Linked DNA regions of Homo sapiens: all the other regions are linked to region 1. Evidence: promoter capture Hi-C in human tissues and cell types (Jung and others, 2019). All regions are on one chromosome and are shown on one strand. Each heading gives the region's core, a stretch centred on a gene start or on the middle of the fragment in contact. The rest is flanking DNA. Distances are from core to core; before and after follow the strand shown. Region 1 holds the start of RNF180 (ring finger protein 180). Region 2 has its middle 57 kb from the start of SHISAL2B. Region 3 overlaps RGS7BP (regulator of G protein signaling 7 binding protein).

Region 1 (2,614 bases), core at 30-2,529:
ACATCCTTGTCTTATTCCTGATTTTAGGTGAAAATGTTCATTCTTTCAAGATTAAGTATGATGTTAATTATGGATTTTTCAGAGGCTCTTTATTAGGTTGAAGAAGTTTCCTTTTATTCCTAGTTGAAGTGTTTATATCAAGAAAGGGTGTTAGATTTTGTCAATTGCTTTTCCTTCATCTTTTGAGATGATCATGTGGTTTTTACATTTAGTCTATTTAAAGTAGTGTGTTACATTAATTTTGTATGTCACACCAAACTTGCATTCCTGAGATAAATCCTACTTGGTCATGTTGTATAATTTTTTAAAATGTTGCTGGGTTTGGCTTGCTAGTATTTTGTTGAGGATTTTTATGTTACTATGCATAAGGTATATTGGTCTGTAGTTTTCTCGTGATGTCTTTCATTTTGTTCTTTATTTCCTTGTATTTCCAGATGGGAAGTCACTGCATACAGCCCTAATCTTAGGACAAGTTTCCAAGTAAGCCACTTCAGGCAAATAAAAATTTCTGTATCTAGCAGAGAAACAAAGCTGTATATTTTTTTTGAGGTTCCCTCCTAGCTCCCTTCCCTCTCCTCAAGCCAACTAATAAAACTTGCTTTTTATATTCCGAATCTTATTTATAGTCGTTTGATCATCTATGAGGCACCTGCAAGTCAACATTTACTGCACGCGGCCCCCTCACTCCCTAAATAAGCACTTTTGATTTACCGCCAGTCATCAACTCACCTCCCAACTGCAATTTGTCAAGAGTAGTGTCAGGTGCACTTTAGTGGTTAATCTCCTTGCACATCGGTGGAACTTTAGGCACAAGAAGGTAAGCAACGAAGATAGTGATATACGAAGGGAAAACTAAACCCAGGTAGCGTTGCCAGCTTAAAAGTCCTAGGCATGGGGATGGGTGGATGGGACGCCGGCCTAAGATTTTAGCAGGGAACAGACCCAGTAGTTGGCTTGGATCTCTTAACTCCAGAAAAGGCCGAGTGAGGACAAGGGAGACCACAGGGATAATTTCTGTGGCTCTGGTAAGGGGATGACAAGGGAGAAAAACTTTCCCACGGTTCCGTCTGGCCCGCGGCGCTTGTCTGCCTGCGCGGGGTCAAAGCCCGGCGCCGCCCACGCGCGGCTCGGGTGGGAACCCGCAGACGTGGGGCGAGCAGGGCCGCTGGCTGTGGCGGGCGAGCGCCGGGGCGCCACGTCCGAGGCCGCGGGGTCGGGGCTGCAGGCACAGCTCGAGCGCTTTCCGCGGGGTTTGGCTCCTGTCGCTTCCCGTCTCGCCGAACCGGCATCGCCGCCGCCGGAGCCGCAGCGAGTCCTCAGAGCCTGGCTGCTGGCGGCCGGGAGCGCCGGGACGGGGCGCGAAGCCGGAGGCTCCGGGACGTGGATACAGGTAAAGGCCGGCGGGTCGGAGTCGGGCGGGGCGCGGCGGCGGCGCCTCTCGGAGGGACCTGGCCTCGGCCGGGCCCTACCCAGCCGCGGTGGCCCGGGCCCCCACGTTGGCCCAGGCGGGGACGTGCCAAGGGGCTGGGCTAGGGTTGCCGCTGGCCTGGCCGCCTCTCGCCCGGCGGGCCTCAGGTGACGCGGCCGCGGCTTAACTTTCGCACCTGAGGCTCTCGGAGCGGCCTCGGGGCGCGCCCACCTGGAGGTTGGAATTACACAGGGTCGAAAAAGCTGAGTCCTGGAGGCGAGGCGCTGTAGGTGTGGCGGAGGAGGCCGGGGAAGGTGGGGTGGGTGCCAGGGGTCCAGTACTGAACCCTCTCCAGGTCTGAGGTGGGGAACTGCGTCTTGTTTAATTTCGGAGCTTGTGGGGACCACACAGCCCCTTCCACGGCCGATTCCCTCTGCACGGTTCCACTTTCCTTTGTCTAGCCCATTTCAGTATCGGCGTCGCAGTCGCTTTTGTTGCAGCCTTGGGTCCGGAGTGTACGACTTTCTGCTAGGCAGAGGTCATAAGCTCTGAAATCCATCGGGCGGAGGTGGGGAGATGGTCCTTTGGTGGGAAATTACTAGTGCTGTTATGAACACTAACACATATATTCCACCTTGTTTTTTTTCGAGATAGTGCTCATTATTTTCGTAGCATCTAACAGTTGTAAGTGTATCTGTGAGAGCATTCATTAGTTAACTTCAAAGGAGCATTATGCGGTCGGGTTACTATTATCCCATTTTATAGACCAGACAGCTGAGGCACCCAAGAGGCAAAGTGATTATATCAAAACTAAGCAGTCAATCCTTGTGGAATCTGTGATTAGAACTTGTCTGACTAGAGTTGTCCTTGGTCCAGTTGGTCTCTTAGTCTCAAACAAAATTTAGCTCTCAAAGATGGACGGTCTGATGCTCATTGTATTTTTATATACTCATTAATTGTTAAAACCTTTCTTAAAAAATAGAGTCAATTCCTTTCAGACTCCTGTTATAGTACCCCTAAAAGTGATACTTGAAAGATCATAAACACTTCAGTTTCAAATGAGTGGTATCATTTGAGTCGTAGAAAGAAGTAAAATTCCGTTGTCTTTTATCTGTCAGACTTTCGTCTCTTGTATAAATGTAGTGCCACTGGCAGCCCAAAGATACTTTGGTGACAATGGCAGAAACTCTAAATATTTATTTAATA
Region 2 (2,614 bases), core at 49-2,548, 470 kb after region 1:
GAATGAAGTTTTGAGAAGGTGAGAGAGAGTGTAGGATCCACTTTATAAGTAGAGGACTTGCCCTTAGGTAGGGACTCAAACAGGAATTTTAAATTCCTGTTTCTAAATGCCACCAGTATATTAAAATCCCTTGAGATTTTTTTTGAAAGAAAAAAATAGATGTCCCACAGTAGATTAATTAATTCAGAATCTCTAGAAGTGGGATTTTGGCATCAGCATTTTAAAAATTCTACATATAGCTCGTGTTGATAATCACTGATGCATTGAAATGGGAGTGAAGTCAGGTTGTGTGAATACAAATACAGGTAGTCTGATCTACTTGGTGATGGAAGAATGAGGCAGTTCTCCTCTGATTGCTTCTATTTTCTCAATGAAATAAGAAACAAAGTCAGAGCTGAGAGGGTGCTGTTGATTTGAAGAGAGAGAGTTAGGGCATGAAATAATTTTTGGAAGTAGGAAAGTAAATTTACTCATGAAATATAATACAATTGCAAGGATTTGCAGAGGGCCCACTTGAGACTTCTGGGGAAAAATGTAATATGAGACTAAATTAGCACAGCTGTGTTTCTTCTCTAGCCACATCCATCCGGGTACAGAAGGAGTAGGTGGAGATGTTCTTTTGTGACATTTGAAGCAGTTGCCACCACTTGACTCCTGACTGAAGTTACAAAGTGGAGGCGGCTGCCTTTGGAAATTTCCTACCTCCCGCCTGCTTCCTCAAACTACTCCAGGCTGACCTAACCCTATCAGTATGATCTAAAAAGAGGAGCTAGTAAACCTAAATGGAATTCTAATTGGTAGAAGAGTTGAAGGAAAGGAAAGGAGATTTTAACAGTACCTTACTGAGCCATAATTTACATGAAGTACAAAATGTACAAATCTTATTGCTTAACAATTTTGCAATTTCTATACACCAACATGTGATCACCACTAAATCAAGATATAAAAACTTTTTTTTTTTTTGAGAGAGAGAGAGAGAGAGAGAGTCTCACTGTCACCTAGGCTGGAGTACAGTGGCACGATCTCGGCTCACTACAACCTCTGCCTCCCGAGTTCAAGCAGTTCTCATGCCTCAGCTTCCCGAATAGCTGGGATTACAGGCATGCATCATAGGCCAGGCTAATTTTTGTATTTTTAGTAGAGATGAAGTTTTGCCATGTTGGCCAGACTGGTCTCAAACTCCTGACCTCAAGTGATCTGCCCGCCTCAGCCTCCCAAAATGCTGAGATTACAGGCATGAGCCACTGTACCCGGCCAATATATAAAAACTTCGATCTCATTCTATGAAGTTCTCCTCGTAACCCTATAAAGTCAACATTCCCCTACAAAAGTTAAACAATATCGTGATTTCTGTGCCCACAGATTAATTGTGCTTGTTCTTTAACTTCGTGTCAATGGCACCATACAATATGAACTCTTGTGTCTGACTTCTTCTGCGTAAGGTTTTTGAGAATAATCTACATTGTTTCATGCACCAGTAGTTTGTCCTTTTGTTACTATTGAGACTGCATTGTATAAATAGACCACAGTTGTTTATCCATTGTCCAGTTGATGGATATTTGTATGTTTCCAGGTTTTTGCTTTTATGAATAAGGTTGCTGTGAATGTTCTTTTTGTGGACATATGTACTCATTTCTTCTCGATATCTATCTAGAAGTAGAATATAATCTGAAATTTCCATGTTATAGAATAGGTATATATTTAATTTCATTGGAAATAATTTTCCACAGTTGTCTATTTTATACTCCAACAGCAATGTCAGAGCATGCCGGGTGCTCCACATCTTCACCAATAATTGATATTATTAGTCATTTTGGCTGACAAAATTGTAGTGGATGTGAGAAATAATATTTCTATTTTTGTCATTTTATTTTACTAGTCACTGACTTGAAGCTCAGAGAAATAATATTTCTGAAGAAGATATTCAGGAGTCACTTGTCCACTCTAGACATGGCACATCAGGTCAAAGTGCAACAACTCCACACAAGAAGGAAATGGATCTGAGAACCTTTATCCTGAAAGGCAAGCTGGTATGTCTTAGAAGGGTGGCAGTGAAAAAAGGACTCTGCACAGATTGAGTAGAACATGAGAGTTGGGGGGAAAGGCAGCCACATCTTCTGAAGCCTGTTAAAAATATATATTAAACGATACTTGTCAAAATATGGTATAGACTTTATTCAGGACCATCATGGTAGGTACAGGGACCACTGCAATGGGATCTTGCAGTGTGGGAGAGAGACTGGGCTCAACTCTGAAAACACCATGGGCAAGTGGGAATTTATAGCCAGGGAGCAAGGTGGGGGTCAGAGGATGGAAAATTACTGAGAGGAAGCATCAGGGGTAGGAGGGATTCTGGCTAAACCAATCTAACAGGATTCTTGCTGAAGACCAGCCAGGCTGATCAGACATCATCCAGAAGATGGTGGAGAATGATCAAGGATGATCAGAGGTCAAGGATGAAGGGTTATTGCTAAACTGACATAGCAAGTTCTTTGCTACACCTGGATTTTTACAAGGAAGTACACAGATGGGCCTAGGAAGAAGCTCAGAAGCCTGACTAAAGTTTGGCCAAGCAAAGAATCTTTGTAAAGTTCTAATGTGTGACACAAGGGAT
Region 3 (2,614 bases), core at 46-2,545, 430 kb after region 1:
GTTCTACTTTCAGATTGTGATATAATTCTAAAGCTAATTACCGAATTTCTGTGTTTATAGAAAATTGGAGCATGTGGTAATTATGTGCTATTAATAAAACTTGGATTTTGTATAAGCTTGGAAATGCAACAATTCAAACAATAAAGCTGTTTGGCACCGTTTGATGGCACTATAGACAAATGATGAGGGAGTGATTTATCTTAATTTATAAAGTAGAAAATTCTTAGCTCTGTTCCCAGGGAAAAAAATATCTGCTGAAATGCCATATCAGGGCATAAACATCAGTGAAACCATTTTACTTTGCAGACCTTAGACAGCAGCTATATTCACGCCTTATAAGCTTATAAGAAGGGATGGCAGTAAGAGTAGGATAGTTAAGGCCCACAACGTTGGCAATGTTTCAGTTCAGCCTGAAAGCCCAGATTCTGGTCAAAGGAGATGGAGGTGGGCACAGTGGACCTGGTCCAGGATGTGGCTAACTCCGTTCTCCCTGGCTGTCTGCCTTGAGAGATCATGGGTCTCAAACTGGACTGCACAGTTAAGTCATCAGGAGGGAATTCTTAAAATACTGATGGCTGGGCCCCACTATAAGCCAACTGAATCAGGCTCTCTTGGGGTGAGACCTGGGCTTAAGGTGATTCTCCTGTGCAGCAGCCAAGGTTGAGAATTGGTGCTTTATTAGAGGAGACAGTGCCTCAATCCCCCATGTTGCATTCCTAGCCCTTTCTCACCCATTCCATCTGTCCTTGAGATCTTACATGAAAACAGACTGTGCCTTGCACTTGTGGAGGTGGGGCCACACTTCCTTTCTCCTGCCCTCCTCTCTCACTTGATCAGCATGCAGCCCACAGATACATCCTCACACCTCGCACCCATGAGAGTGGATTTGGAAAGTTTTTACAGGTATATTTCCGCAGATCCTCAAGGCTGCTTTCCCTTCCTTTTCCAATCAATTATTACTGAGACTTGAGTTCCTCTTCACATATCAGTCAATACTTGAAAAGGAGCTCCCATGAGGTCTCCAGAATTACCCTAAGAAAACGATCCTCAAACCGTGCTCAACAGAACTGTGGTGTTTTGTGAAATGGACTGAGAGGTTTCATACCTAAAATTAAATGGTGACTGTCTTTCCTCAAATAACAGAAGAAAAATAAGTGGATAGAATTTCTTCAACTTTAAGATGATCTTCCCCACAAAACTTTCCTAAACCCATGGTGCCTGCCAATGCTTGCCTATCCTCAGTTAATTAAAGGATGCATCTGCTTTTTGTACCAAATTATGTTCCTGGCTATTTTAAATGAAATCTGCCCCTATGTCCTGGGGTCTCAAGAGCACTTTCTCCAATGCACAACCATCTGGACGTGTGTAGGGACAATTGTCCCAAGGGTTTCAAAAGATGAGTTCTCCCCTACCTTAGACTAGAAGCCTCCTGAGATGGCTTCCTGCTTTACAATTCTGGGGTTTTATGACCATGCATGCTCTGAGATGAGGGAAGATATTGGATGTATGCAGTGGCATTGCATGCTGTGTGCTGAAGTCAGGAAGTGTGGGAGGACGGTCCATGCTAAAGGAAGGCCCAGCTGTACCCAGGTGGGGTTGTTTTCCCTCTTGTTCCCATACTGCGCCCCTTTCTGTTTCATCCATTGTAAGGAGCTCTTTTCTGGAAGTTTTAGAATTTGTTACTCTTTCATTATTCCAAGTCAATGTAATAAGTGTTGGTCCTGGTGAACGCTTAATACCTGAGTTATGCTGAATTCCAATCGTAGTAACAAGAGACTATTAAAACCAAGCAGAAGATGGAATTGGAGGCCATTGTCTTCAATGAAACAACTCAGAAAACAAAATAGCACATGTTCTCACTTGTAAGTGGGAGCTAAATGGTGGGTACACATGGACATGGGGTGTGGAATGATAGACATCAGAGACTCAGAAGGGTGGGAAGGTGTGGGGGGTGAGAAAATACTCAGTGGGTAAAACGTACATTATTGGGGTGATGGATGCCCTAAAAGCACAGACTTCACCACTATGCAATATGTCAAAGTAACAAAACTACACTTGTACTCCTTAAATTTACACAAATTTTAACAAACGAGCAAATAACAGCAAGTGAATGTACATAGCCACTATAGTCCTCTGACCATAAAGCCTTGATAGCACCATCACCCAGCCTCAAGTTTGCCCTGGGTAGCCCTGTTGCTCCAGTTGTACTTCCTTGGCCTCTCTTTGCAAATCTAAAGCACTGTCCTCGTGACCAATGGCTCTTCTCTGATCTCAGCCAGGTTCGACTGGAGGCAGAGATGAGGGCTCCTGCAGGAGAATGCCCTGTAGAAATGTTTGGCAGAATGGCTCTCACTTTTTCCTGAGCCAACCCATCTCAGATTTTTTTTCTTGTAAAAGCAAAATAAATTCAATATTTGCCTACTGGAAACTAGAGCTAGTGCAATTAGACACAGACCCTCATCTTTCAGTTGTCTCATATAACAGATTGTTTGAGATTTCATTTTGAAAATTTACAGCTGATTATTCTGTCTTTTTATCAATTTTACAGAGACATGAGAGAAATGAAAAACCTTTTAAGCAAACTCAGGGAAACTATGCCTTTACCATTGAAAAA

What was found. Contacts are between HindIII fragments. The study calls those that stand out against the background at their distance.
Region 2: a fragment that was not itself captured here is called in contact with the fragment with the promoter of RNF180 in region 1 in 1 of the 25 tissues and cell types used here (H1 embryonic stem cells).
Region 3: a fragment that was not itself captured here is called in contact with the fragment with the promoter of RNF180 in region 1 in 2 of the 25 tissues and cell types used here (dorsolateral prefrontal cortex and mesenchymal stem cells).

Annotation. Positions count from the first base shown.
Region 1 is chr5:64,164,564-64,167,177 of GRCh38, forward strand. RNF180 (ring finger protein 180) reads left to right here and starts at 1,280. Exons shown (of 8, transcript NM_001113561.2): 1 at 1,280-1,390. The HindIII fragment of the contact is 11,374 bases long and covers 1-2,614 here.
Region 2 is chr5:64,631,836-64,634,449 of GRCh38, forward strand. No RefSeq gene overlaps it. Among named protein-coding and RNA genes, the nearest start is that of SHISAL2B, 57 kb to the right of the region's middle. The HindIII fragment of the contact is 4,791 bases long and covers 1-2,614 here.
Region 3 is chr5:64,595,817-64,598,430 of GRCh38, forward strand. It overlaps RGS7BP (regulator of G protein signaling 7 binding protein), which reads left to right. Exons shown (of 6, transcript NM_001029875.3): 5 at 2,549-2,614. Among named protein-coding and RNA genes, the nearest start is that of RGS7BP, 91 kb to the left of the region's middle. The HindIII fragment of the contact is 5,660 bases long and covers 1-2,614 here.